4 separate regions of the Homo sapiens genome follow, and all the other regions are linked to region 2. The links are contacts of gene promoters, found by promoter capture Hi-C in blood cells and fetal thymus (Javierre and others, 2016). All regions are on one chromosome and are shown on one strand. Each heading gives the region's core, a stretch centred on a gene start or on the middle of the fragment in contact. The rest is flanking DNA. Distances are from core to core; before and after follow the strand shown.

Evidence for each region. Contacts are between HindIII fragments. The CHiCAGO score rates a contact against its expected background, and 5 or more counts as called.
Region 1: a fragment that was not itself captured here is called in contact with the fragment with the promoter of RNF144A in region 2 in 2 of 17 cell types (fetal thymus and non-activated CD4 T cells); the score reaches 8.7 in fetal thymus.
Region 3: a fragment that was not itself captured here is called in contact with the fragment with the promoter of RNF144A in region 2 in 1 of 17 cell types (erythroblasts); the score reaches 10.0 in erythroblasts.
Region 4: a fragment that was not itself captured here is called in contact with the fragment with the promoter of RNF144A in region 2 in 3 of 17 cell types (fetal thymus, activated CD4 T cells and erythroblasts); the score reaches 7.5 in fetal thymus.

The regions. Positions count from the first base shown.
Region 1 is chr2:9,423,814-9,426,513 of GRCh38, reverse strand. CPSF3 (cleavage and polyadenylation specific factor 3) reads right to left here. Exons shown (of 18, transcript NM_016207.4): 1 at 2,691-2,700. Among named protein-coding and RNA genes, the nearest start is that of CPSF3, 1.5 kb to the right of the region's middle. RefSeq lists an enhancer at 2,624-2,673. The HindIII fragment of the contact is 1,985 bases long and covers 348-2,332 here.
Region 2 is chr2:6,915,962-6,918,661 of GRCh38, reverse strand. It overlaps RNF144A (ring finger protein 144A), which reads right to left and starts at 1,250. Exons shown (of 9, transcript NM_014746.6): 1 at 1,040-1,250. GRASLND (glycosaminoglycan regulatory associated long non-coding RNA) reads left to right here. Exons shown (of 5, transcript NR_033997.1): 1 at 1-260; 2 at 1,438-1,812; 3 at 2,695-2,700. RefSeq lists a silencer at 921-1,410. The HindIII fragment of the contact is 2,406 bases long and covers 1-1,891 here.
Region 3 is chr2:8,918,373-8,921,134 of GRCh38, reverse strand. All of the region lies in intron 3 of MBOAT2 (membrane bound glycerophospholipid O-acyltransferase 2), which reads left to right. Among named protein-coding and RNA genes, the nearest start is that of KIDINS220, 82 kb to the right of the region's middle. The HindIII fragment of the contact is 1,363 bases long and covers 593-1,955 here.
Region 4 is chr2:9,006,798-9,009,497 of GRCh38, reverse strand. LOC124907728 (a long non-coding RNA gene) reads right to left here. Exons shown (of 2, transcript XR_007086199.1): 2 at 635-2,700. Among named protein-coding and RNA genes, the nearest start is that of MBOAT2, 4.5 kb to the right of the region's middle. The HindIII fragment of the contact is 1,319 bases long and covers 655-1,973 here.

The DNA of each region.
Region 1 (2,700 bases), core at 91-2,590, 2.5 Mb before region 2:
TGTTCTTCTGAATTCTAGACCTTTAATACATACACGTGACACTAGGTATCTCTACTAGGATCTCTCCCGGGACTTCATATTCAAGATGCCAAACTAGTTTCCACCACATGCCCCGTACTTGCTCTACTTTCTTCCTGAAATGCTTTGTCTTCAGATATTGATGTGGTTGGCTCCTTTGTATCATTTGGGTCTCAGTTCCAACGTCACCTTCTCAGATGCTTTCCCTTGACTACCTCCTCTAATTTGCCCTTCACAGCAAGCCACAACCCAGCATCAGTTATCTTAATACAACTACATGAAGTTATTGTACCTACTTATGTCTTCTTTCAGGCTACTAAATGAAAGCTTCCTAAGAACAGAGGCATTGTCCATCTTATTCACTGCTGTATTGCTACAGTACCTGGCATGTAGCACATCACAAAAAATACTTATTGAATGAACAAAACTCCTCAATTTTGAACCTTGGAAAGATTATGCTAAATGAAAGATGCCAGAGACAAAAGAGTATGTATTGTATGATCACACTTACATGAAATGTCCAGAACAGGCAAATCTATAAAGAAGTAGATTAGTGGTTGCTTAGGGCTGGAGAGGTAGTGGGGATTGTCTATGACTGCTAATGAATACAAGGTATCTCTTGGGAGTGATGAAAATGTGCTGGAATTAGAGAGAGGTGATGGTTGTATAACTCTATGTTAAGAACGACTGAATTATACTCTTTAAATGAGTTGTATGGTATGTAAATTGTGAGTTGTATGGTATGTAAACTGTATCTCAATAAAGCTGTTACGAAACAACCAAATTCCCAAATTTACTCCAGAGTTGCCCCATCTCTTATACTCCTTGAGTGAATAACACTACCCTTTCCCAACTGCCAAACTTAGGAATCTGATCATAACATCCTCTCTGCCCTGCCTTCCCTCCCCACAACCACCCTTCCAGATACAGCTGATCAGCCACAAAATCCTGAAGATCTCATTTGCATACTCTCTCACACTCACATCACTCACTACAGGCTCTCGTCAGCTAGACTTAGAATCTTTCAATATCTCACTGAATCTGCTCTACTCAATCCATGCTTTTATTCATCCATGCTTTTATTCATCTGCTACACTGCTGCCAGGAGAGATTTTCCTAAAACATAATTCCCACAATATCCATGCTTGCTTAATAGCCTTCGCTGGCTCCCTGTAATTGACTTGATAAAGGTCCAAACTCCTGTGTATACGAGGTGCTTCCTAAACTGGACCTCAACTGCCTGTCGCTTCATCTGCTAACTCAACTCTTTAGCTACAGCCATGAGGAATCTGGCCACAAGCTGTGACCACTCTCACTTTCATATGTGCCACTTCCACTGCCTAGAACATCCTGGGCCCCCCAGTCTTTAACTCCTACTCATTCTTTAGGACTCAGCTCAGGCATCACATTTTTCAGGATCCACGAGGTATCCTTTTTTCCTCAATCTGTCAGAAATCCCTTTTCCATACTTTCACAGTGCTCAGTGCAATGCCTGCCTGCGTTCTTAGATTAGCTATTATTTACAAAGCACCTACCGCGATGTTCACTCTTCAAGTTTTATCTTATTTCCATATGAGAAAACGGGTTCAGTGAGATTGTTGTCCTACTAATTGGTCAAGTAGATAATGGACTTCAGGTCTGACTTCAAAGTAATAGTCTCCTATTATTCCAAAGTATCTCTCCAATATTTCCCACTGTGCACTGTAATTCTCTCCAAAAGAGCGAGAGCAATTAACTGGGCCCTCTGTTGCGTCTATATCCCCATGTGTGGTGCTTGACACTTGCTCAGTGTTTGCTCATCACAGGAAGACATGACAGGTGTGAACTAAGCAGAAGGAAACGGACTATGTCCCAAGCAGGTGCTCAATGAAGCCTTACTGAATGATTGTGTAAAGGAGATACTTTCTACCTTTTGGAAAGCGTATATTCATGTTGTGCCAACTAGTATCTAACAATAAACATGTTGTGGGTTCGAAATGCTCATCTGTAGGAATTCAAGTTCTCTACATTTGCATCTCCCCTTCAGCAGCATTCCCGACTGATGAGGATCGTGTCCACTGAAAGGCCACTCTCCTTATGGACAGTCGAGGGCTGAGTTTTTGTCCCTAACACCTCTGCACTTTCTCTTCTCCAGCTTTACACCTTCCTTATTCTACTAGGGCCTGAGCTGAGAAGATCGAAACTCACGGCAAGTCCCTAATATTTTCTAACTTCTGGCACATGTGAAGCCCTGGTGTTAAGAAACAGACTTAATTCTTCCCTGCACGGCTGTAGCCTCATTCAGGTCCTCCTCTCATCCTGTCGGTCATAAGCTTCACCGGCTCCCTCACAGCTTGCCCTGACGCGCAGAGATCCGTGCTTGTGCTAAGTGAAAACGCTTCTTAGCGTGTACGAAAGCGAGCGGTGGCCCCGTAAAACTTTTTTTTTTCCGACTCCAACATACCCTCCCCTGAAACTGATGAAAAAGCAAAATCCCGTTCACTCTATAGCAGGCCCCTTCCGATCAACGGTCCTCCAACCCCTCGAGCCTGAGAAGCCTGGCCCGCAAGCGCGGACCAAAGGCAGGCTGCCGGGGTAGGTGGGAGCGCGGGCGACGGAGGAGGCCAGTCTCCGGTTACCCCTCGCGCCCCTCACAGCCCGTGGCTTCATTCCCTCTCTCGCTGGTCCCTTACAGGGGTCGGA
Region 2 (2,700 bases), core at 1-2,500:
CTCCCGAGTAGCTGGGACTACAGGCGCCCGCCACTGCGCCCGGCTAATTTTTTGTATTTTTAGTAGAGAGGGGGTTTCACCGTGGTCTCGATCTCCTGACCTCGTGATCCGCCCGCCTCAGCCTCCCAAAGTGCTGGGATTACAGGCGTGAGCCACCGCGCCCGGCCAGTTCAATGGATTTTAAAAATTATTATTCTCTAGAAAAAAGACCACGAACTTTGGAGTGGACATCCTGAGACCTGCCTACGAAGACCATTAGGGTAAAGAAGTCACCCCTTCACCCCAGGACCAGGAAGCCTCCAGGATGGCATAAGCGACCAAACAGCTGGGAGCCAAGCACAGTGCAGGGGGCTTGGGGTCGGCGGCCGGAGGCTGGGGTGGGTAAGACCCGCAGGGAACTCCGGGGCTCGGGCGGCGGCTCATTCCCCGGGAAAGGGCTCGCGGTGGGGACCAGGGGCAGTAGCAGCCGCGGACCCCGCGCGCAGGGGATGTGCGGGGCATCCTCTTGGCCAGTTCCGACCTTCCCCGCCGGTGGCGATGCCCCGGACGCGTCGTCCTTTCCCAGACCTCCTCTTGGGGCCGAGGCTCCAGCCCCAGGGTCTGCGGGCGGGGCCGCGAACCTTGAAAGCCCCCGCCGCCAGCTCGCCCGCGGGACCCTGGCCCGGGGCGCCCTGTCCCGCGCCGCAGCGCAGACCCGCGACCGCGCAGGGCAGGCAGGGGGACGCCAGGTCCCTAAGCGCCCACTGCCCTGGGGCGCGGGCGCCGCCTGCGAGAGGCAGGGCAGGGCAGGAGCAGAGCAGGGACGAGGTCAGGGACACGGGCAGGGCAGGGCGGGCGTCCTCTGAACGGAGCCCGCGAGTCCCCGCCCGGGACGCTGCCCCCCGCCCGCTGCCACCGGGCGCCGGGGCAGGACCCAGCGGGGCAGGCGCGGCCGCAAGCCCCGAGCCCCAAGGCCGGCCGCGCAGCGCCGCGTCCCGCCCTCCCCGCTCCGCGGCCGGCCCGGGCGATGCGGACACAAAGGGGACGCGCGTCACTCTACCTGGGCCTGCTCGTCCGCGGTGCGCGGCTCTGACGCCTCCGCCCGGTACTGGCTGCGGGGTGCCGGGTGCCCGCAGTTTGCCGCCCGCGCCTCCCCGCGCCCGCGCAGCCCGCACGGCCCGCACTGCAATGCCAGCCCTGCCGCCTCCCGCCTGCCGAGAGCCCGCGCGGGGAGAAGCGGCTGCGCGGGCGGGGCGCGAGCGCGCACAGAGGCCGGGCACGCGGGAGGCTCGGCCCCGGCCCCGCCCCCGCGCCGAGCCGCACAGCGCCCCCTGCCGCCCGCCTGCGCCGGCCCGAGGCCCGGAGCCGCCCCGCAGGCCCCAGGACAGGCTCCGGCACGAGGAGGGGCTGCGGAGACCGCCCGTGCACGCTAACATGAAAATGCTATTCCTGCTTTAGTGGCCTCCAGAAGACACTCCCCTGATTCCTACACCGAGGGAACACACAGCAGCAAGCTAGGAAAGAAGGGGTGACCCAGCCCAACGCTGTAAACCAGGGCGCGAACCGGCGTTGAGCTGTGCAGCTGCGCCCTGGGCTCCAGTCCTGCTCTGCCGCAGACCCCACCGGAGCCAGCACCTGCCTCCCCGACCCTCGCTGGGGCGGCTGTGAGATGAGCCCAGAGCCTTCCTGAGCCAACCCTCGCAAGGAAAGTCTGTCTGTTCACCCCACTATCCTTGTCTTGAAGGATGAAGAAAAGAGGGCCCCCCGGGAGGTCCCAAAAGGTGGAATGGACATCTGGGATCCAAGCACAGCAATTTCTTTATTTTTCTTAAGGTATCCAGCTTGTTGGAATCTAAGATCTGCGAAGGTATTAATAGAATTCCTGCATCTTCTGCCACTCCCCATAGAAGCTTGAAGTTACACAAATGTTAAATTATACGTCAGATGTGCATATATGAACAAAACCTACGAGTGTGCATGAAATAACACCTTCTTAAATATATAGATTCTTTTTTCTGCAATATTAAATGGAAACCCCACTAGAACATCGTTTTTCCTTAATAGCATACCCTCCACACTGTGTGGTCTAAATTCAAGCTCTACCACCTACTAGCCATTAAGCAAGTTATTAAGGTCTTCGTGCTTCCATTTTCTTACGTGGAAAATGAGGTGGCAATAGTATGTATGAGTTCTTCGGAGGGATTAAACAAGTCAAATAGGCCAAGTGCCATGGCTTACACCTGTAAGCCCAGCACTTTGGGAGGCCAAGGCAGGAGGACTGCTTGAGCCCAGGAGGTCAAGGCTGAAGTGAGCTGTGTTTGCATCACTGCACTCCAGCCTGGGCAGCAGAGTGAGACTTTGTCTCTCAATAAATAAAGAAATAGTCAAATTAAATATAACTGGCAAACTAAAACAACTCCATAGTCCTTAGCTACAATTTGTCTCATTTCTCCAAAGAATTAAATCAGATGATTCTTAACTAACTCAAAGCTCTGCATAATTTGTCTTCTGCTACACATACATCTTTATAGTAAAATAAAATAAAGCTGTCCCCTCTGTATTGAGAAGTTATTCTGGTAAATATTTGACCTCTTCAAATATATGAACGAGCACTTGCCTTCTAATGCCTCAGTTTCAGATTCTTTTTAGAAATGTCATTATTCAAGAAAAATGCACAATGGGAAGAATCTTAACAACAGCACTTTGTTACTTCAGCCTCTC
Region 3 (2,762 bases), core at 25-2,524, 2.0 Mb before region 2:
ATAGCTAAAACAAATAGCAAAATGGCAGGTTAAATCTGACCGTATAAATACTTACAGTAAATGCCAGTGAAAAGTCAGAAGTTGTCAGACTGGATTAAAAAAAATCTAACTATATGTTGTCTACCAGTAAAACACATTAAAGACATGAGTAGGCTGAAGGTAAAAGAGTGGAAAAGATGTAAGCCATGCAAACAGAAACCAGATGAGTGTTGGAATAGCCACAGAAAAAGACTGAGGACTAATAAATGAGGCTGGCAAGGTTGCAGTTTATAAGACCAGTGTACAAAATCAGTTATATTTCTATATACTACAAATTGAGAATCCAGAAATGCAGGTATAAAAACAATTCCATTCACAGCAGCATCAAAAAGAATAAAATACTTAGAAATAAATCTAATAAAAGAATTGCAGTTGCACTTGAAAACTGTAAAACATTCCTGAGAGAAGATTAAATGGAGAAGTATTTTATATTTATGAGTTGGAAGACTTTACATTGTTAAGATGGCATTTCTTCACAAATTCATCTATAGATTTAATGCAATTCCTAACAGAAACACTGGCAGTTTTTTTTTTTGGTAGAAATTGATAAGCTTTTCCTAAAAGTTATATGGAAATACTAAGGACCTTAAGTAACCAAGATAATTTTGAAAAAGTATAACAGAGTTTGAAGATTTACACTCCTGTGTTTCAAAACTCATGCTACTGTGATCAAGACACTGTGCTATTGGCATAAGGATAGACATATAAATCATTGCAACAAAATTGAGAGTTCAGAAATAAACCTTTATGGTCAGTTGATTTTTGACAAAAGTGCCAAGGCAGTTGGGAAAGGATAGTTTTTTCAATACACAGTGCTGGGACAATCAGGTTTCTATATGCACAGAAATGAACCTGACCCTTACCTCACATCATACATAAAAATCAACTCAAAATGCCTCTTAGTCCTCAATGTAGCAGCTAAACCTATAAAACTTCAGAAGACAACACAGGAGAAATTCTCTGTGACTTGTGATTGGGCAAAGACTTCTTAGATATGACAACCAAATAATTGCCCATAAAGAAAAAAATTGTCTGAGTGTGATAGCACACGCCTGTAACCCCAGCACTTTGGGAGGCCGAGGGAAGAGGATTGCTTGAGGCCAGGAGTTTGAGACCAGCCTGGGCAACATAGTGAGACACCATCTTTTAAAAAAAGTTGTTTATAAGTAGAAAAGTACCCCAGTGTGGTGGCGCACACCTGTAGTCCTAGCTGCTTGGGAGGCTAAGGCAGGGAGATCACTTGAACCCAGGAGTCCAAGGTACATTGAGTTATGATTGTACCACTGTGCTCCAGCCTGGGAAACAGCGAGAACCTGTCTCAAAACAAAAAATTAAAAATGAATCATAATAAAATAAAAAAATTGAATACTCGTATTTCAGAATTTAAAACTTTTACTATTCAAAAGACACCTTTAAGGAAATGAAGAGATAAGCCACAGGAGAAAAATACTTGCAAAACATGTGTCTGATACAGGACTTGGATCCAGAAGATGTACAGAACTCGTACAATCAATACTAAGAAGACAACCCAATTTAAAGATGGACAGAATTGCTAGTTACACATTTCATGGCCAATATGCAAATTAAAAGATGCTCAAGATCACTAGCCATTAGCGAATTGCAAATTAAAACTACAATAAAATTAAAACTATTTTATATAATAACAACTATATATCCACTAGAATGGATGTAATTTAAAAGACTGACAATACCCAGCATTAGTGAGGATATGAAGAAACTAGAATCTTCATACGTTGCTTACAGGAACATAAAAATTGTAGTCACTTTGGAAAACATTTTGGTTGAAAGTTAAACATTAACTTACCATATGCCCTGAAAATTCTGTTGTTAGGTTTCTACCCAGGGTGAAAACGTATGTCCACATAGAGTAGCACTATTCATAATAGCTAAAAGCTTCAAACAGCCCAAATATTCACCGGCTGGTGAAAGGATAAACGAAATGTGGCATGTCCATACAATGGAATACCATTCGGCAGTTTACAAAGGAACAAACTGCTGATATATGCTGCAACATGGAGGAACCTCAAGAGCACGGTAAGTGGAAGAAGCCAGATACAAAAGACTACATATTGTTTTATTTTATTTACATGAGACTCCCAGAAAAGACAGATCTAGAGACAGAAAATGATCGGTGGTTGCCTAGGGTTGAGGGTACAATTAGGGATTACTGCAAGTAACCACAAGGGAACTCTTGGGGCAGCGGTCTTGCAGTGATGGTCACACAACTCTACACATTTACTAAAAATTGTTGAATTATACACTTACAATAAGTAAATTTCATGGTGTGTGAATTATACCTCAATAAAGCTGTTTAATAAAAAGGCTATTTGAGCGAGGCTTGCAAGCCTTTTAGGCCTGGAGCAGTAACAGCTCCTTAATTCACTGTTCCTTCTGCCTTTCTGATAGGAACTATAATTCAGGTTAAACAAATATGGGCACACCTGTTCTATTGCACTCCATTTTATTTTATTGCACTCCATTTATTTATTGCACCATAGATACTGCCTTTTTTCTTTTTATTAAACAAACAGAAAGTTTGTGGCATCCCTGCACCCAGCAAATCCATCAGTGCTGGTTTCCAGTAACATGTGTTCACTTAGTGTCTCTGTGTTACATTTGATAATTCTGACACTTCAGACTTTATTATCTCTGTTATGGTGATCTGAGATCAGTGATCTTTGATGTTACCATTGTAATTGTTT
Region 4 (2,700 bases), core at 65-2,564, 2.1 Mb before region 2:
TGGAGAGCAAGTTCTTTGGCAAGAGAACCAGGTTAGATGTGGTAACCCCAGACATGATGGGAAGAGATGACTCTCATTTCTAATTTTTCACTGGCTAGAACTCTGACATTAGTTAGGACACTGGTATTGTAATCTGTGGACCAAAACCCAGCATCTATAAAATGACAATAAGGGAGGAAGGGTTTAGGCATAAAATACCCATAACAAAATATGCAGTTTGACACATTTACTTCTAAAGAGGGAATTCTGCTGAAAGTGATAGGCTGCTGGGGACTACACAAAACTCTTCAGCAGGCTGGAGAATAACTTACAGCTTTCTCTTTGTCACAGAGCTGGCAGCAGAAGAGGGTGGGTGTAACTCCTCCCCTAGTAGCCAGACTACACTGTTTAGCAGAACAGTGATATGTCAACATGTATCAGAAGGGCAACTCTTCTTACAATTATAGATAAACAGAAAGAACCTGGAATATTAGGCGAACTGAGAAAATGAGGCCTTCTTCCCCAGTGCAGTGACCCCAGCAGATGCAATAAATGCTGCTAGTGGTGACGGTGATTATGATGAACCCTGGGGAGGCTACAGCAATTTATATTTAAGGTGTTTCATAATTTGGACACAAAAACTATTATGCAGATATGCAAAAGCATGAAAAAGCTTGAACTTTATTTTTCTGTACCTAGGAATCAGGGGTTGGAGGCTGCATGCTCATGTTGTAATAAATAAGCATGAAAGGGGTGTTCTTTGTATTGAGATTTGACTCAATCATATAAAGATAAAAATGCCAAATAAATCTATGAGGAAAATAAAATGTTTCCCAAGATGCGCAGATATAAAACAGAAATCTTTGCAGTCCACCAAGAAATAATAGGCATTTTTAAGGAGAAAGACTGATTAGAGACGTAATACATTTGAGGTAGTCCTGGAACCTGTGGAATAATTAGAAAGCAGTGCTATTCCCAAACTGATGAGTAATAGTTTCATTTGCATCTTTTAGCCTAATTTAAACCTAGACTGTGGTCTCACAGAGACAGAGAAAGTCCCAAAAATTCTTGGGAATCATTTAATTTTAGAGGAAGAGGTGACAATTGAAATCATTTATTTAACAAATCTCTTAACATGTTCCCAATGAAATTGAAGATGAGTGATTTGTTTGCTGGTACAGTCCACGTCCGTGGTGGAGCCAGAATACAGTGGAGCCAGGACTTCTCCTACTGTGTTTGCTACCTCTTGTTCAGCCTACTTTGTGATTTCCTAATTGAACTATGTTAGGTCTTAAAGGGTGACATTCTCGTTCCATTTTCTAGTCTCAGGCTAAGGTTAGCTTGCAAGTGCTTAAAGATGCCCCTCTAGTTAACTTGGGTTGTTATTATGTGTATGGTTCAATGTTCTTCATCCATCAAAATTATTCCAGGGTATAGGAACATAGAATAGGCAAAATAATTGCCTGAGAGATGGAATTTCATGGCACATACTATTTTTACAAAACAAAAGCAGCTTGGCAGATTATTCATTTCTTCCCAGTGGTTTCTTCAATGTTAAAAATAAGTTGGGAAGGAAACATCTCATTTTAGCAATCTTTAATGATCACAGCGATTTTAGGAGGCGAGGGCAATGAACCCAGGACAAGAGCACTGCCGCACTGCCATCTTACCACACGTGGATGCTGCCTGGTGCTCCTGTGCCTTTGTCTAAGTAACTCTTGTTAACAATGTGGCTGCTATATTGAAATCCCTTTACTACTAGTTATTATTTCTCAGACTAACAGTACTAGTAACTTTAAAAATAATTGAGTCTATGATTAAGTTCATGCTCATAGTCACAACACTCCTATGAGGTAGGATGAACAGTTACCATTATTCATATTTAACAATGGGAAACTTAAGGCACAGAGAAGCTAAGCCAATTTCTAAAGTTCATAGCTATCTGGTGGAAAAGTTAGGGTTAAAATTCAGGTCTTTTAACTTCAAGCTAAGCTTCTTTCTTACAGACATATTCCTTTGATTTTAACATTAAAAAAAGAAACTTCCTTGATACTTTTCTTGTAACATGTGAATTTGTGAATACGACTGTTTTCTTCTTTTGATTACAGGCATCATTTATCCTTTACGTCACCCCACATAGCTCCTTGAACATAGTAAGTGGTCAATAAATGTTTTAACACAAGAATTGCTCTTTATAGGATGGATGTTACCCAAGGTAGGGCAGTGAGGCATTATATACAATTAGTTTAATTCTTTTCTCTTTTGTCTCCACTGAAGAGCTTCTGGTATAATTAGCAGATACTGGTCAGGCTAATTGTATGGCCTGCACACAGTTTATGCTACCATCAATGAGTTATCAGCTTAAAATGCCAGCTTCAATTCTTCATTAAAAACATGAAGAGGTAGTATATTTAATACGAAACAAATGGTTTCCATTTTCAGAATTATACTAAATTTCTTGGATTAATATTATGTGTCAGCTTGACTGGGCTAAAAGGTGCCCAGATAGAGCTATTGAAACATTATTTCTCAATGTGTATTTGAGCATGTTTCCTGCAGAGATCAGCATTCGAATTGGTACATTGAGTAAAGATTTTCTCACCCACGTACCCCGGCGTCATCACATCTGCTGAGGGCCCAAATAGAACAAAAAGGTGGAGGAAGGGTGAATTCACTCTGAACAGGGACATCCATCATCTCCTGCCCTCGGATATCATTGCT